Regions from separate parts of the Homo sapiens genome. Here all the other regions are linked to region 3. The links are contacts of gene promoters, found by promoter capture Hi-C in blood cells and fetal thymus (Javierre and others, 2016). All regions are on one chromosome and are shown on one strand. Each heading gives the region's core, a stretch centred on a gene start or on the middle of the fragment in contact. The rest is flanking DNA. Distances are from core to core; before and after follow the strand shown. Region 1 holds the start of OR2B2 (olfactory receptor family 2 subfamily B member 2). Region 2 holds the start of H2BC7 (H2B clustered histone 7). Region 3 holds the start of TRT-AGT6-1 (tRNA-Thr (anticodon AGT) 6-1). Region 4 holds the start of H4C6 (H4 clustered histone 6).

Region 1 (3,378 bases), core at 780-3,279, 750 kb after region 3:
TTAGAAGTGGGAAGTACAGAAACAACAGAAGATCTAAGTAAAACTGGGGAGTGCAGAATTGTTGTGGATTTTAGTATTGTGTTGATGTGCGAATAGTGTTAAAATTTAAGCTAGGGCTGTTAAACTTATAGAGAAAATTAAGACAAGGTTTTGGATACTTCTGTTAGATCTACAATTGTCTGAAAAATAATTTGTGCCATGGAGTTTGTGTGTGTGTGTGTGTGTGTGTGTGTGTGTGTAAGGATGAGGACATGTGTATATGTATCAAAATGTTTTGTTTCTGGCTTTTATTCTGGTTTCAGAGAAGTCTAAGTCTCTTCCCGATGTATACAGACTAGTGCTAAGATGTTTGAGACCTTAAAGATTTCAAGGCTATGCTATTTTGAGAGTTCATAAAAGATCAGTTCTTAAGACTTGTGCAATGAATATATTTAGGCAGTAGAAAACAGATATAGTTCTCTGTCGACATTTTATTTGAAGATCACTATAATAGTTTTTCTAAGAATAGTAATAATAAAGCAATTTGGAGAGAATTAAATTATAAGCTATGTAAAATTGAAGTCTTTAAAAGGCCTATAATTTGAGAATTCCTTTTTTTTTTATTAACACCCTTGCAAGCAACCTCTCAAAAGCTCCCTTTACATCTTTGTTTCTATGTGTGTGTGTGTATGTATGTATGTGTGTGTGCGTGTGTGTATTACTGAAGAGATGATTTCTGGATCAGAAAGGTCTAGTTTACACTGAATTGTACAAACATTGATGTAAAGTGTGACAACCCTTGAAAATGTTGTGATTACAGTTTTTGGTGCATTGGAAGGCCAATTCTGGGGGCTTGTTCAATGAAAATGTTTAGGCAACAGAAACAAATATAGCTTTTTGTCAAGGAAATTTTCTTTGAGGGAGATTACAATAGTTTTCTATAGTAATGACAAAAATAGGACAACTTGCGGAGAAGTTAGTAAGGTAAGTAAGCACTGTGTCTTTAGCAAAGCTTATCATTTGCATATTTCTTATTTCTTGATTAAGAAGACTCTTTGCAACCAACCTTTTAAAGGCTTCCTTTACCTCTTTGTTCCTAAGTGTATATATAAGGGGATTCAGCATGGGTGCAATGATTCCACAGAAGAGAGAAACCATCTTTCCCCGGTCTTTGGAGCTGGGTGAAGGTGGTTGCAGGTACATGGAGATAGCTGTACCATAAAAAAGTGACACCACAATTAGATGGGAGCCACATGTCCCAAATGCCTTTCGTTGACCTTCAGCAGACTGGATTCTCAACACTGCTTGGACAATAAAAGCATACGATATAAGGATGAGTGTCACGGGTATTAGAAGGAATAGCACACTGATGAAGAATAGTTCAGCCTCATTTGCTGTTGTGTCAACACAGGACAACTTGAGCAGAGCAGGGACTTCACAGAAGAAGTGATCCACTTCTTTGTGACCACACAGTGGCATCTTAAGTGTCCAGGTGGACTGTAATACTGAATTGCTAAAGCCACTAATCCAGGATGCAGCTGCCAACTGGAAGCAGAGCCTCTGGTGCATGATAATTGAGTAATGGAGAGGCCGACAAATAGCTACAAACCTATCAAAGCACATGACGGCCAGGAGAAGACATTCTGTGGAACCCAAGGCCAGGAAAATGAAAAGCTGGGCCACACAGCCACCATAACTGATTACTTTCCTGGTGTTGCATATGTTTACCAGCATTTGTGGAACTGTACTTGTGGTATAGCAAAGGTCCAGGAGTGAGAGATTGCTAAGAAAAAAGTACATAGGGGTGTGGAGTTTGAAATCCACATGTGACACAAGAATTATTGTCAGATTGCCAAAGATTGTCAAGATATAGGAAAACAGAAACATCACAAAGGGTGGAATCTCTAGCCATGGTTGATCTGAGAAAACTAACAGAATGAACTCCTGTGGGACACTCTTATTTACCCAATTCATGTTAAATGGTTCAACTCTTCGTTCTCTGAAATATAAGAAGTCAGGAAGTTAACAACACACTTCCTGATTTTGTCAGCTATAATCATTTTGCTATCAATTTACATAAAATTACAGACTGATCCAATTAATAATGTGAAAAAAGTATTGATAAAAATATAAATATTTATCCATCCAAGTATTTAAAAAGTGTTTATATATCTGTAACAGCATATTAGCAAATTGAATCGAATTTCAAGAATCTTTTTTTTTTTTTTTTTTTTTTTTTTTGAGGCAGAGTTTCACTCTTTTGCCCAGGCTGGAGTGCAATGGCGCCATCTCGGCTCACCGCAACCTCCGCCTCCCAGGTTCAAGCAATTCTCCTGCCTCAGCCTCCCCAGTAGGTGGGATCACAGGCATGTGCCACCACCCCGACTAATTTTGTATTTTTAGTAGCGATGGGGTTTCTCCACGTTGGTCAGGTTGGTCTCAAACCCCAACCTCAGGTGATCTGCCCACCTCAGCCTCCCAAAGTGCTGGGATTACAGGCGTGAGCCACTGTGCCCAGCCTAATTTCAAAAATCTTAAGCCATATTTTCAGTTTCCAAATTCACATAATGTATCCTTTGATATTTTACTGTTTGTAAATGTATTTTTCTCATTCTTCCTACCTAGATATCTACTGTGAGGTAGATGTAGATACAGTTTCCTGTCATTTGAATTCATTCTAATTTCTCTTCAAGGCCAGCGAGATTCCCTGATTGTAGAAATCAGTTAACATTAGTTAAAGCCACCTCCCATTATTCCCCTTCCCTCAAAAAAGCCATGTAGACAGTATCTAGTAAGTTATCAGACACAATTTAAGGAGACATATCCTTTTCGTTCTAGAAGCTCATAGAATTTGTATAGATTCCTTAGTAATATGATATTTGAAGGTGACAGGCTGGTCTCATATCCCTACCCTCTCTAATTAGTTACATTCATTATATTGGAATGCTTCTAACCCTTTGATCTCCACAATTCTCATTTGTAAAATGAAGATGATACAGTGGTTCCCCCTTTATCCATGGGGGATACATTCCAAGACCACCAGTGGATAGAAACCTGAAACTGTGGGTAGTACCAAACCCTATATATACTATGTTTTTTAATACATACACAACTATAACGTTTAATTTATAAATTAGGCACAGTAAGAGATTAAGAACAATAATTAATAAAATGCAGCAAGTATAACAGCTCCAGACCCCCATTTATTGTAATACATGTTATGTGAATGTGGTGTCCCTCTCTTTTTTTCTCTTCAAAACACCTTATTCTAGTGTACTCACCCCTCTGTGTTCTGACGATCTGATAACCGAGATGGCTACTCAGTGACTAACAGGCAGGTGGATGCTTTAAATCAAGCTTGTCCAACCTGAGGCCCACGGGCTGCATGCAGCCCAGGAT
Region 2 (3,265 bases), core at 440-2,939, 960 kb before region 3:
TATGAAAGCACTCTTATCTTTTACAAGTTCAACTGGTATTTGTGTAATCTGCTGTAAAAAAAAAAAAAAAAAAAAGCCAAATTTATAAATGGCACAAAAAGACCAGTGTGCCCTTTTAGTCATGCTGAACACTGTGCTAAGAAGCTCCACCTAAGGGCCGTCTGGCTCCAGGGGATGTAGGTTTGTATTCCTATTGATAATTAATTAGGGTTAGCTCAGTAGAGTTGAAAGTGGCTTGCAAAAACAAACCCAAAAAATACTTACAAATTACAGGTTATTTCGTATCATTAAGATGCATACAAAAGACAATAAAACATTTGTTCTGGTTCTGTTGCTTTAAGTCACTAACTATATTTTTATGTAAATGTAAACACTGACAAACATTAACTTCTCTCCTGTATGTCTCAGGCCTTTTAACAGCTTTGCAATCCTAACGAGCCGCTGCATTGATCGATTTAAATTACATGTGACATAAAGTCTCTTTGCATTTTAATTAGTTTGCTTTTTTGGGTTTTTGTTTGTTTTGAGACAGTCTCGCTCTGTCGCCGAAACTGGAGTGCAGTGGCGCGATCTCGACTCACTGCAACCTCCGCCTCCGGGGTTCAACATTTTCTCCTGCCTCAACCTCTTAAATAGCTGAAATTACAGGCGCGCGCCACCACGCCCGACAAATTTTTTTATTTTTAGTAAAGACGGGGCTTCACACCATGTTGGTCAGGCTGTCCTGGAACTCCTGACCCTGTGATCCGCCCACCTTGGCCTTCCAAAGTCCTGGGATTACAGGCGTAAGGAACCGCGCCCCGCCAATTTGCTTATGTATTTTTATGGCATCTTTAAAATGGACGGTTAGTTTCACGATTCAGTGTTAAGAACACCCACTTATAAATGGAAAAATTATTAAAGAAAACTGCAAAATAGCTATTTACACAGAAAATGTGAGCCCTTTTAAGGAATACATGGGTGGCTCTGAAAAGAGCCTTTGTTAAGACTGCTTCCTTAAAAAGCCAATATAAGAGTTCTCGTTTTACTTGCCCTTGGCCTTGTGGTGACTCTCAGTCTTCTTGGGGAGCAGTACAGCCTGGATGTTGGGCAGAACACCGCCCTGAGCAATTGTGACTTTACCCAGCAACTTGTTTAGCTCCTCGTCGTTGCGGATGGCCAGCTGCAGGTGTCGGGGGATGATGCGGGTCTTCTTGTTGTCGCGGGCGGCGTTGCCCGCCAGCTCCAGGATCTCGGCGGTCAGGTACTCCAACACCGCCGCCAGATACACTGGCGCGCCGGCCCCGACTCGCTCGGAGTAGTTGCCCTTGCGGAGCAAGCGGTGTACGCGGCCCACAGGGAACTGGAGTCCGGCCCGCGAAGAGCGGGTCTTAGCCTTAGCTCGGGCCTTTCCGCCTTGCTTGCCGCGTCCGGACATTTTGAATTCTTAAAAACGATGTTAAGCAATGAAGACAAAAATGTAAAAGTGAATTTTGTTAGCAAGTGAGAAACTATTATACTTGGAGGTCGAATTGTAAATAACGCTATTTGATTGGCTAGAACAACCAACCAATTGCAAAGAAACGCTAGAATCACCTAATTTGCATACCACAGGGCACACAGAGACAATTCATCCAATCAATGTGTAAGCTTTTAAATGCCAGTTTACGATAGGAGCTCTACAAATATTACCAGCTGCAGAGTGAGGACACTTGCATTTCTCTTTAGGTTGTGGACGAAGTGTTTATTTATCATGCCTGAACCTGCTAAGTCCGCTCCTGCTCCAAAAAAGGGCTCCAAAAAGGCGGTGACCAAGGCGCAGAAGAAGGATGGTAAGAAGCGCAAGCGTAGCCGCAAGGAGAGCTATTCCGTGTACGTGTACAAGGTGCTAAAGCAGGTCCACCCCGACACCGGCATCTCATCCAAGGCCATGGGCATCATGAACTCCTTCGTCAACGATATCTTCGAGCGCATCGCTGGCGAGGCTTCCCGCCTGGCGCATTACAACAAGCGCTCCACCATCACCTCCAGGGAGATCCAGACGGCCGTACGCCTGCTGCTGCCCGGGGAGCTGGCTAAGCACGCCGTGTCAGAGGGCACCAAGGCCGTCACCAAGTACACCAGCTCTAAGTAATTCTAACGTCTTCATACCCAATCCCAAAGGCTCTTTTAAGAGCCACCCACTTTTTCAGCTATAGAGTTGTAATTACCTGCATATTTTCCGTGTTTACCACCAACAGGTTTGGTTTTATCCTCATTTGAGGGGGTTGCTGCTGTGTAGGTCTAGACCACAGTTCTTTTGACTGGTTGAAGGAAAATGCTATACTTAACCGTAGCATGTTTGTTTTACCCCAAGTGCTGGTTAGAAGGCTAGCCCATTGTGCTGATAAGCACATTTTTCTTATGTTGTGCTGTGATGTGTCCCTTGTCAAATTGGTTTCATAAGAAAAGAACTTTTGAAATATCTCTTTTGCTACTGACATAGTGTGAGGGAAAGGAATGTCTTCCTTAATTCCGGTTTAGTCATCGCAGCATTGGCGAATTTAGCTGGTTAAAATAATGTAATCAAATTCTTTAAAATATAAGGAAAGCAAGACAAGTAATGTGCATGAAAACTGAAAAAATGTGAACACCCGAGCCTGGATGCAGCACTAATAATCAACATTGTTCTTGGTTTAGTTAAAGAAAATTTGGCCACTGGCAAAATACCATTTGGGAGTAATGAGACACACCCCTAATCCTAAAATATTTTCTTGTCACTTCCTCAAAGTTGTTTTTGACTTTTTTTCCTTCAGGGTTGACTTCATATGTGTTCATTTTATTCTAATAAGCAAAAGTTGTAATTTTTAAGTGAAAAAATAATTTATGTCATTCTACTTACAAATACAATTTTTCTATTCTATATACTCATATATAAAGATACTGAAGTTTTACTGTATTCTTGGTAATTACAAGCCTTACTTAAGATCATAAACTGTTATGAATGGCATCCAGTGTAGAATACTTAAAATTTTTACAAAATGTTTTTGTATCTTAAAAATATTTAAAATATTATATATAAAAGATTCTTAGAATTTCAACCCAGTTAAGAAAAAAGGAATAGTATTCTATATTATTACTTTTTTTTTTTTTTTGAGGAGGAGTTTCGCTATTGTTGCTCAGAGTAGAGTGCAATGGCGCAATCTCGGCTCACAGCAACCTCTGGCTCCCGGGTTCAAGCGATTCTCCCGTCTCAGCCTCCCGAGTAGCTGGAACTACAGGCGCGCACCACCATGCCCGGCTATTT
Region 3 (3,549 bases), core at 371-2,870:
CCAGTAGGAGGTGGCTGGAGACAGGCAGATCCCCAGAGGCGCTTCCATGAGCCCAGTTCTAGTTAGTAGCACAGCACTCTGAGAACACATTAATGGCACTTCGTCCCTCCTGGCCCTGGTGGAAGGTTAGTATTCAAACAGGTGTGGTGGCTCATGCCTATAATCCCAGCACTTTGGGAGGCCGAGGCGGGCAGATCACCTGAGGTCGGGAGTTCGAGACCAGCATGGCCAACATGGTGAAACCCCGTCTCTACTAAAAATACAAAAATTAGCTTGGCATAGTGGCATAGGCCTGTAGTCCCAGCTATTCGGAAGGCTAAGGCACGAGAATTGCCTGAACCCAGGCAGTGGAAGTTGCAGTAAGCCAAGATCACACCACTGCACTCCAGCCTGAGTGACAGAGTAAGACTCGGTCTCAAAAAAAAAGAATACTCATACTTTTAGCAACTTATCAAAAATTTCAGCAAAAGAGATTTGTTCTTTCCTTCTTGGGGCTAAAATAGCCCCCATTTCTTCTCCAACTGTCCATCCAGCTGACATGGATTCTGAAACTCAGAGATATTGTAATTGAGCTGAGCTGCCTTATACTGTAGGATATCATCTCTCCAACAGGTCAGGTTCTAGGCCTCTTCTCAGTAATTTAATAGCATTTGTAGTGGTTATTCATGTTCACTTGTATCACATTCTACTTCAATTTTCTTTTTAGTCTATTTTATCTTGACTCAGTCTTACAAGAGTGAAGACAGGGATCAAGTATGTATTGACCCTAAAGGATCAGTTCTTGTCAATTATTTTGCCACAAGTGAATGATAAAACTGCTAAAGCAATAAACATTTTGATCTTGCAATTCTCCAGAACACATTTTCTCAGATCTTACTGGCCTGAGTAGCAGAAATCTATGGACTCTGACTCAGAGGCTATCTCTTAGTGAGAGAGCTAGGGTCCTAGATCTATTACAGAATAAAATTGTAGTGACAAGTGAGTAATAGGGCTCAATAAAACCCATGCTGTATGATTTGCTCGAAAAGTAGAGAGCTTGCTTGGCGTGTACCATATGATACTCAGTGCAAAGCACATGTTTATCTTAGAGGTGTGAAGTTCTCTGGTTCACAATAATGTTTTGCAGCTTTGAGTGAGCATTGCTAGAAATCTGGTATAAACAGGGGAATTGTGAGATTAAAAGCTTGCATTTTATGAATGCACTAATATTGGTATGGAAGTATCTTACACAGTCTGCCAACCACATTTTCAGAAAGAAAACTGTTTTACTCTACCTATGGCATTCATGGTCTTGAAATGACTTTTTAATATTTCTATGTTTTATCATTCTCATCTCTCCATGGAAATTAATGAAAGTTACCACCTTCTAAGATTGTTCTAAAGATTTAAGGGTGGTAAATGCATGATGGCACTAGCTCAGTAAGGTACAAACAAACAAACAAAATAATAAAATAAGCCATTTTTGGAGCTAAATAAATAAATATCATTGCTACTTAAGTGGTGGAAGGCCTTCATGCAGTAGTAATATTGCAAAGACTGGTACCAGACTCAGCATCTATTTAACTTGACTACAATCCTGTGCTTCTTTGATGCTGATAAGGTAGTTCTAACAATAATAAGAAGGGTTTTGTCTGTCCTCAGTATTGAGGCTTATTTGAAGATCTGAGCAAGGCTTTTTATAAGGCGGATGTTGGCCAAAATGTTTGCTATGATAGGCCATAAGTTTAGGGAAGACACAGATGTTGTGGGAAAAGGTAGGTTCTAGAAAGAATAGCCCCAAAAGTCAGGGAATCAGGAAAAGAACTTTCCTTCTAATGTCAGCAGAAATCCGGATGAAACACTTTAAGCAGGGGTTTCGTAGTGTTAATTTCTCTCAAGGGTGCAGCAATCTATCTGTAGCCACACCACTCCAGCACCTACTTTATGTTGAAATGTCTGCTTGTATCTTGGAAAGATTTCCAAAAGGAGAAACAAAGGGCTTTTCTTCCAGGGTTTTACACATACCAAGATTTATGAAACACCTGTCAGTGAGAAACAGAAGTCGGGGAATACATAACTAAGCTTCACAAAAAACCTCAGCCAATAAAGCTGAAAAATTGGTATAACCTGGCTTTGTGATTAGCTAGGTAGTGAGTAGAGGTTCATGACCCACAGGAAATAAATCAGAAGCAACACCAGGCTTGGTTAAAAAATAAAAACTCAACCTCAACCTAAGTAATTTCTCATCTTTCCAGGGTCTTGCATTTTGTGGATGCTTAATGAATGCATATGCAAAGCACCAGGCAGTTATTTAAATATTTCAGGATATTGGTTTCATCTGCTTTTCCCCATGCTAAGCTGCATTCAGCTAAACATTCCATGACTCCTTCTGCATTCATTAAACTGACAAAGAACCTGAGATAAAAGGTCATGCAACTCTGTGAGGCCCAAGTGAGAGGTTCCCACAGCATCCTGTGAGGGCTATCACATTGTACTCTACTTTGTTCTCTACTTCTCTGTATCATCCACGCAGTTTTACAATCTATGTGGGTCTAGAAATTGAGTCTATTTTAACCCAGCAGGCAAATGAGCAGAACAAGACTATGACAGAAGCAAAGATATCCATCCAGGAGAACTCCCTGTGTACACCTAACTCATTGTTTCTAACAGCAGATCTCCTGTTGAGACCAAAGCTGTCTTTGAAACAGAGGGTCTCAAGGTGCCTAGTTTGGGTAAGTGGGAAGCAGGGTGACCACAGATCTCCACGACATCACTGTGTCCTCGTCTAGGCTCACTTTCTTGTGCCAGATTAGATAAAATAGAAGGAAGCATAATGGTTTTACTCAATTGCAGTGAATTAGCTCAGAAGGTAGTGTCGTGGGTTCTATAACCCAGCGGTAAAGAGATTGGTTTCCATATCACTTGTGTTTTTGTTTGTTGTTGGATTTTTTTAGTTGGTTAGTTTGTTTTGGGGTGTTTTTTGTTGTTGTTTTATCTCCCTGTAGAACATAAATTCAATAATGGAAGAAAATTTTGCTGTTTTATTCAATGTTCTTTCTCCAATACCTAGAAAAGTACCTGAAATGCAGTAATGACTCAACATTTGTGGACAGAATGAATGCACGAACAGAGAAATAAATTTAAAATATGTTGCGATATCCAATATTTCCTGTAGGGGGAGATAGTCACCATGAAATAGAAATTTCACTCATTTCAATTTGAAATAAATTCTGAAATCTTGCATTGAAGAAAAGTATTTTTTTTAGTGTTGGAATTGCTGCTTTGTTGCTGGTTCAGAAACACAGATGTGCTTTCTTTGTCACAAAATTAAGTACACTTTTGTCAAATTGATACATTTTACAAAAATGTTATAAATACGATATATCTGAACATATGCCCAACAGGGGCCCTGTGGCTTAGCTGGTCAAAGCGCCTGTCTAGTAAACAGGAGATCCTGGGTTCGAATCCCAGCGGGGCCTTACGTGTTCAATTTTATATTTTCAATAGTATGTTGCAAATACATATGTTGAAAATGCATTAAGGAATTTATAGGTTGTGAAATCCGTATTG
Region 4 (3,192 bases), core at 206-2,705, 920 kb before region 3:
GAAGCAGTAGACTGTAAGAGTTAATGTTGAATTTTTCTACTACACATACCCTATGATCTGTGTGTAGAACACTTCTTCCGGAATCTTTTATTAGGACAGTATTTCACAGAATTTATTAGTATTATTTTTGTTAATTTACAAACCTTTATTCACCATGATTTACCATGTATGCTTTAGTGGCATGAAAGCAGTGGTAGGTAGCAAGGTAGTGAGACTCCAGAATCGAGCCAACAATACAATGCCATTTATTAGAGGATAATGTCTTCAAGCCTGGGATTCCTTATCTTTACACCTCAGATATTGCATTATACATTGAAAAACTAAGAATGAAACTTCAATTAATATTGGTTTCCCTTACTAGAGGTCTTTCTTTATTAGGAATGCCAAAAACGATGTGAATGTATATGTCTCTGCCAAACGCTAAGTCTCATGATTGGCCAAATTTAAGAAGTATTGCTACATTTTAAGAATTAATAAAAATGGCCGGGCGTGGTGGCTCACGCCAGTAATCCCAGCACTTTGTGAGGCCAAGGTGGGTGGATCACCTGAAGTCAGGAGTTCGAGACCACCCTGGCCAACATGGCGAAACCCCGTCTTTACTAAGAAAATACAAAAATTACCCAGGTGTGGCGACGCGTGCCTGAAATCACAGCTACTCGTGAGGCTGAGGCATGAGAATCGCTTGAACCCAGAAGGCGGAGGTTGCAGTGAGCCGAGATAGCGCCACTGCACTCCAGCCTGGGCAACAGAGTGAGACCCCGTATCAAAAAAAAAAAATTAGTAAAAATACATTTTCAAAGAATCTTCACATTTAAAAATTAAAGCTAGGCGCCTGTAATCCCAGAACTTTGGGAGGCCGAGGCGGGTGGATCACCTGAGGTCAGGAGTTCGAGACCAGCCTAGTCAACATGGCGAAACCCCATCTCTACTAAAAATACAAAAATTAGCCGGGCGTGGTGACGCGCGCCTGTAGTTGCAGCTACTGCAGGGGCTGAGGCAGAAGAATCGCTCGAACCCGAGAGGCGGAGGTTGCAGTGAGCCGAGATCACGCCACTGCACTCCAGTCTGGGGCAGAGCAAAACTGTTTCAAAAGAAATAATAATTTTATTCTCTTGTCTATCCATTCGGTAGACAAGTGTAGCGTTACTGCCTCCTTTTTGCAAATAATAAGGATTTTAGGAGACAGACATTATCAGTTCGAGAGCCCACAGGCACTGGACTAGAAGACACAGAAACCTACACTCAAGACCCAAACAAGGAAACAGGAAGGAGTCAAATCAACTTGCATTTCCCCTACCCTCACCGCCCCCTTTCCTTCCCAAGGCAATAGTGTAGGGGACGCCCAGTAAGTTACGGAAAAGGCGGAGACAGAGGTTTCGTTCCCGCCCCTCCAATTCAGTCTCCAAAAAGGTCCGCATAATTGATATATAAGGGGCTTCAGTGTGTAGCAAAGTTGCAAAAGTTAAGAGTTGTTGTTTGTCTTCGATCATGTCTGGTAGAGGCAAAGGTGGTAAAGGTTTAGGAAAGGGAGGCGCCAAGCGCCATCGCAAAGTGCTGCGTGACAACATACAGGGCATCACGAAGCCCGCCATCCGTCGCTTGGCCCGACGCGGCGGCGTGAAACGCATTTCGGGCCTCATTTATGAGGAGACCCGCGGTGTTCTTAAGGTGTTCCTGGAGAATGTGATACGGGACGCCGTAACCTACACGGAGCACGCCAAGCGTAAGACAGTCACTGCAATGGATGTTGTCTACGCGCTCAAGCGCCAGGGACGCACTCTGTACGGCTTTGGTGGCTGAGCCTCACCCCGGCTTTTTATTTAACAGCTCACCCATAAAAGGCCCTTTTCAGGGCCACCTCCTTCGTCACACGAAGGGCTGTAACTGATGACGACTTGGGTTTCGTTTTGTAAATTTGGGATTCTAACTGAGTTAAACCGAGCCGTTTTTAGCGATCTTCCTAAGATGGCGGATGTGCTAAGGAGAAAGGGAAGGCGAAACATTAGAAACTTGTTCAGGTATTTCGATCGCAAACATTCACAGGAAAAGATGGTGGAAATGGTTTGGGAATACCAGCAGCCTTTTATGACGTATGTGATGTGTTTTATTCCCACGTTTCTGAAATTTACTCCTATGTTAGGTGGCTGGGACTTAACTACACTAGCATTACATGTTTAGTTTTTGAGATGGAGTTGCTCTTGTCCAGGCTGTAGTGCAATGACGCAATCTCGGCTCACCGCAACCACCCCCTCCCGGGTTTAAGCGGTTCTCCTGACTCAACCTCCCGAGTAACTGGGGTTACAGGCATGCGCCACCACGCTTGGCTAATTTTTTATTTTTAGTACAGAAGGGGCTTTTCTGTGTTGGTCTGGCTGGTCTCGAACTCCCGACCTCAGGTGATCCGCCCTTCTTGGCCTCCCAAAGTGCAGGGATTGCAGGCGTGAGCCACCGTGCCCGGCCTTAGTGTTATTTATTAGGCATAGAACGTGAGTAATCTTAGGGCGGCTGTGGACAGATCAATTACTGGTAAACTTAATCCACTACTTGTGTCCGGGCGCGGTGCCTCAGGCCTGAATCACAGCACCTTGGGAGACCACGGCGGGCGGATTACTAGAGCTCAGGAGTTCGAGACTAGCCTGGGCAACCAAAATGGTGAAACTCCGTCTCAACTAAAAAAGTTAAATAGGAAAGTTAGCCCGGCGTTGTGGCGGACGCCTGCTGTCGCAGCTAATCTGCAAGGGCTGAGGCAGGAGAATCGCTTGAGCACGGGAGGCGGAGATTTCAGTGAGCTGAGATGGTGCCACTCCACTCCTGCCTGGGCGACAGAGACCATGCCTCAAAAAAAAAAAAAAAAAAGTAAAGTTTGGCCGGGCTCGGTGGCTCATGTCTGCAATCCCATCTGTAATTCCAGCAGCTTGGGAGGCCGAGGTGGGTGGATCACTTGAGCTCAACGAGTTCGAGACCAGCCTGGCTAGCACTGCAAAACCTCGTCTCTACTAAAAATACAAAAATTAGACGTAGACGTGGTGACACGCGCCTGTAGTCCCAGCTACTCGGGAGGCTGAGGCAGGAGAATCACTTGAACCCGGGAGACTGAGGTTGCAGTGAGCCGAGGTCGCGCCACTGCACTCCAGGCCTGGGGCACAGAACAAGGCTCCGTCTCAAAAAGAAAAAAAAAAGCCCAAGTTTTTG

The links. The method cuts DNA at HindIII sites, captures the fragments that hold promoters and counts their contacts. A CHiCAGO score of 5 or more calls a contact.
Region 1: a contact is called between the fragment with the promoter of OR2B2 here and a fragment that was not itself captured in region 3, in 5 of 17 cell types (monocytes, non-activated CD4 T cells, neutrophils and 2 more). The highest score is 8.9, in monocytes.
Region 2: the fragment with the promoter of H2BC7 here is called in contact with a fragment that was not itself captured in region 3 in 3 of 17 cell types (total CD4 T cells, total B cells and naive CD8 T cells); the score reaches 6.6 in total CD4 T cells.
Region 4: the fragment with the promoter of H4C6 here is called in contact with a fragment that was not itself captured in region 3 in 1 of 17 cell types (total CD4 T cells); the score reaches 5.4 in total CD4 T cells.

The regions. Positions count from the first base shown.
Region 1 is chr6:27,910,367-27,913,744 of GRCh38, forward strand. It overlaps OR2B2 (olfactory receptor family 2 subfamily B member 2), which reads right to left and starts at 2,030. Exons shown (of 1, transcript NM_033057.2): 1 at 819-2,030. The coding sequence starts at 1,953. The coding sequence ends at 880. The HindIII fragment of the contact is 2,345 bases long and covers 990-3,334 here.
Region 2 is chr6:26,197,827-26,201,091 of GRCh38, forward strand. It overlaps H2BC7 (H2B clustered histone 7), which reads left to right and starts at 1,690. Exons shown (of 1, transcript NM_003522.4): 1 at 1,690-2,162. The coding sequence starts at 1,733. The coding sequence ends at 2,113. H2AC7 (H2A clustered histone 7) reads right to left here and starts at 1,467. Exons shown (of 1, transcript NM_021065.3): 1 at 958-1,467. The coding sequence starts at 1,417. The coding sequence ends at 1,025. It also overlaps a transcript of H3C4 not described here. RefSeq lists enhancers at 532-591, 622-681, 813-1,430, 842-911, 959-2,158 and 3 more. The HindIII fragment of the contact is 6,177 bases long and covers 1,628-3,265 here.
Region 3 is chr6:27,158,887-27,162,435 of GRCh38, forward strand. It overlaps TRT-AGT6-1 (tRNA-Thr (anticodon AGT) 6-1), which reads left to right and starts at 3,385; the gene lies at 3,385-3,458. The HindIII fragment of the contact is 878 bases long and covers 1,182-2,059 here.
Region 4 is chr6:26,238,938-26,242,129 of GRCh38, forward strand. It overlaps H4C6 (H4 clustered histone 6), which reads left to right and starts at 1,456. Exons shown (of 1, transcript NM_003540.4): 1 at 1,456-1,856. The coding sequence starts at 1,489. The coding sequence ends at 1,800. RefSeq lists enhancers at 1,083-1,182, 1,643-1,692. The HindIII fragment of the contact is 5,393 bases long and covers 1-3,192 here.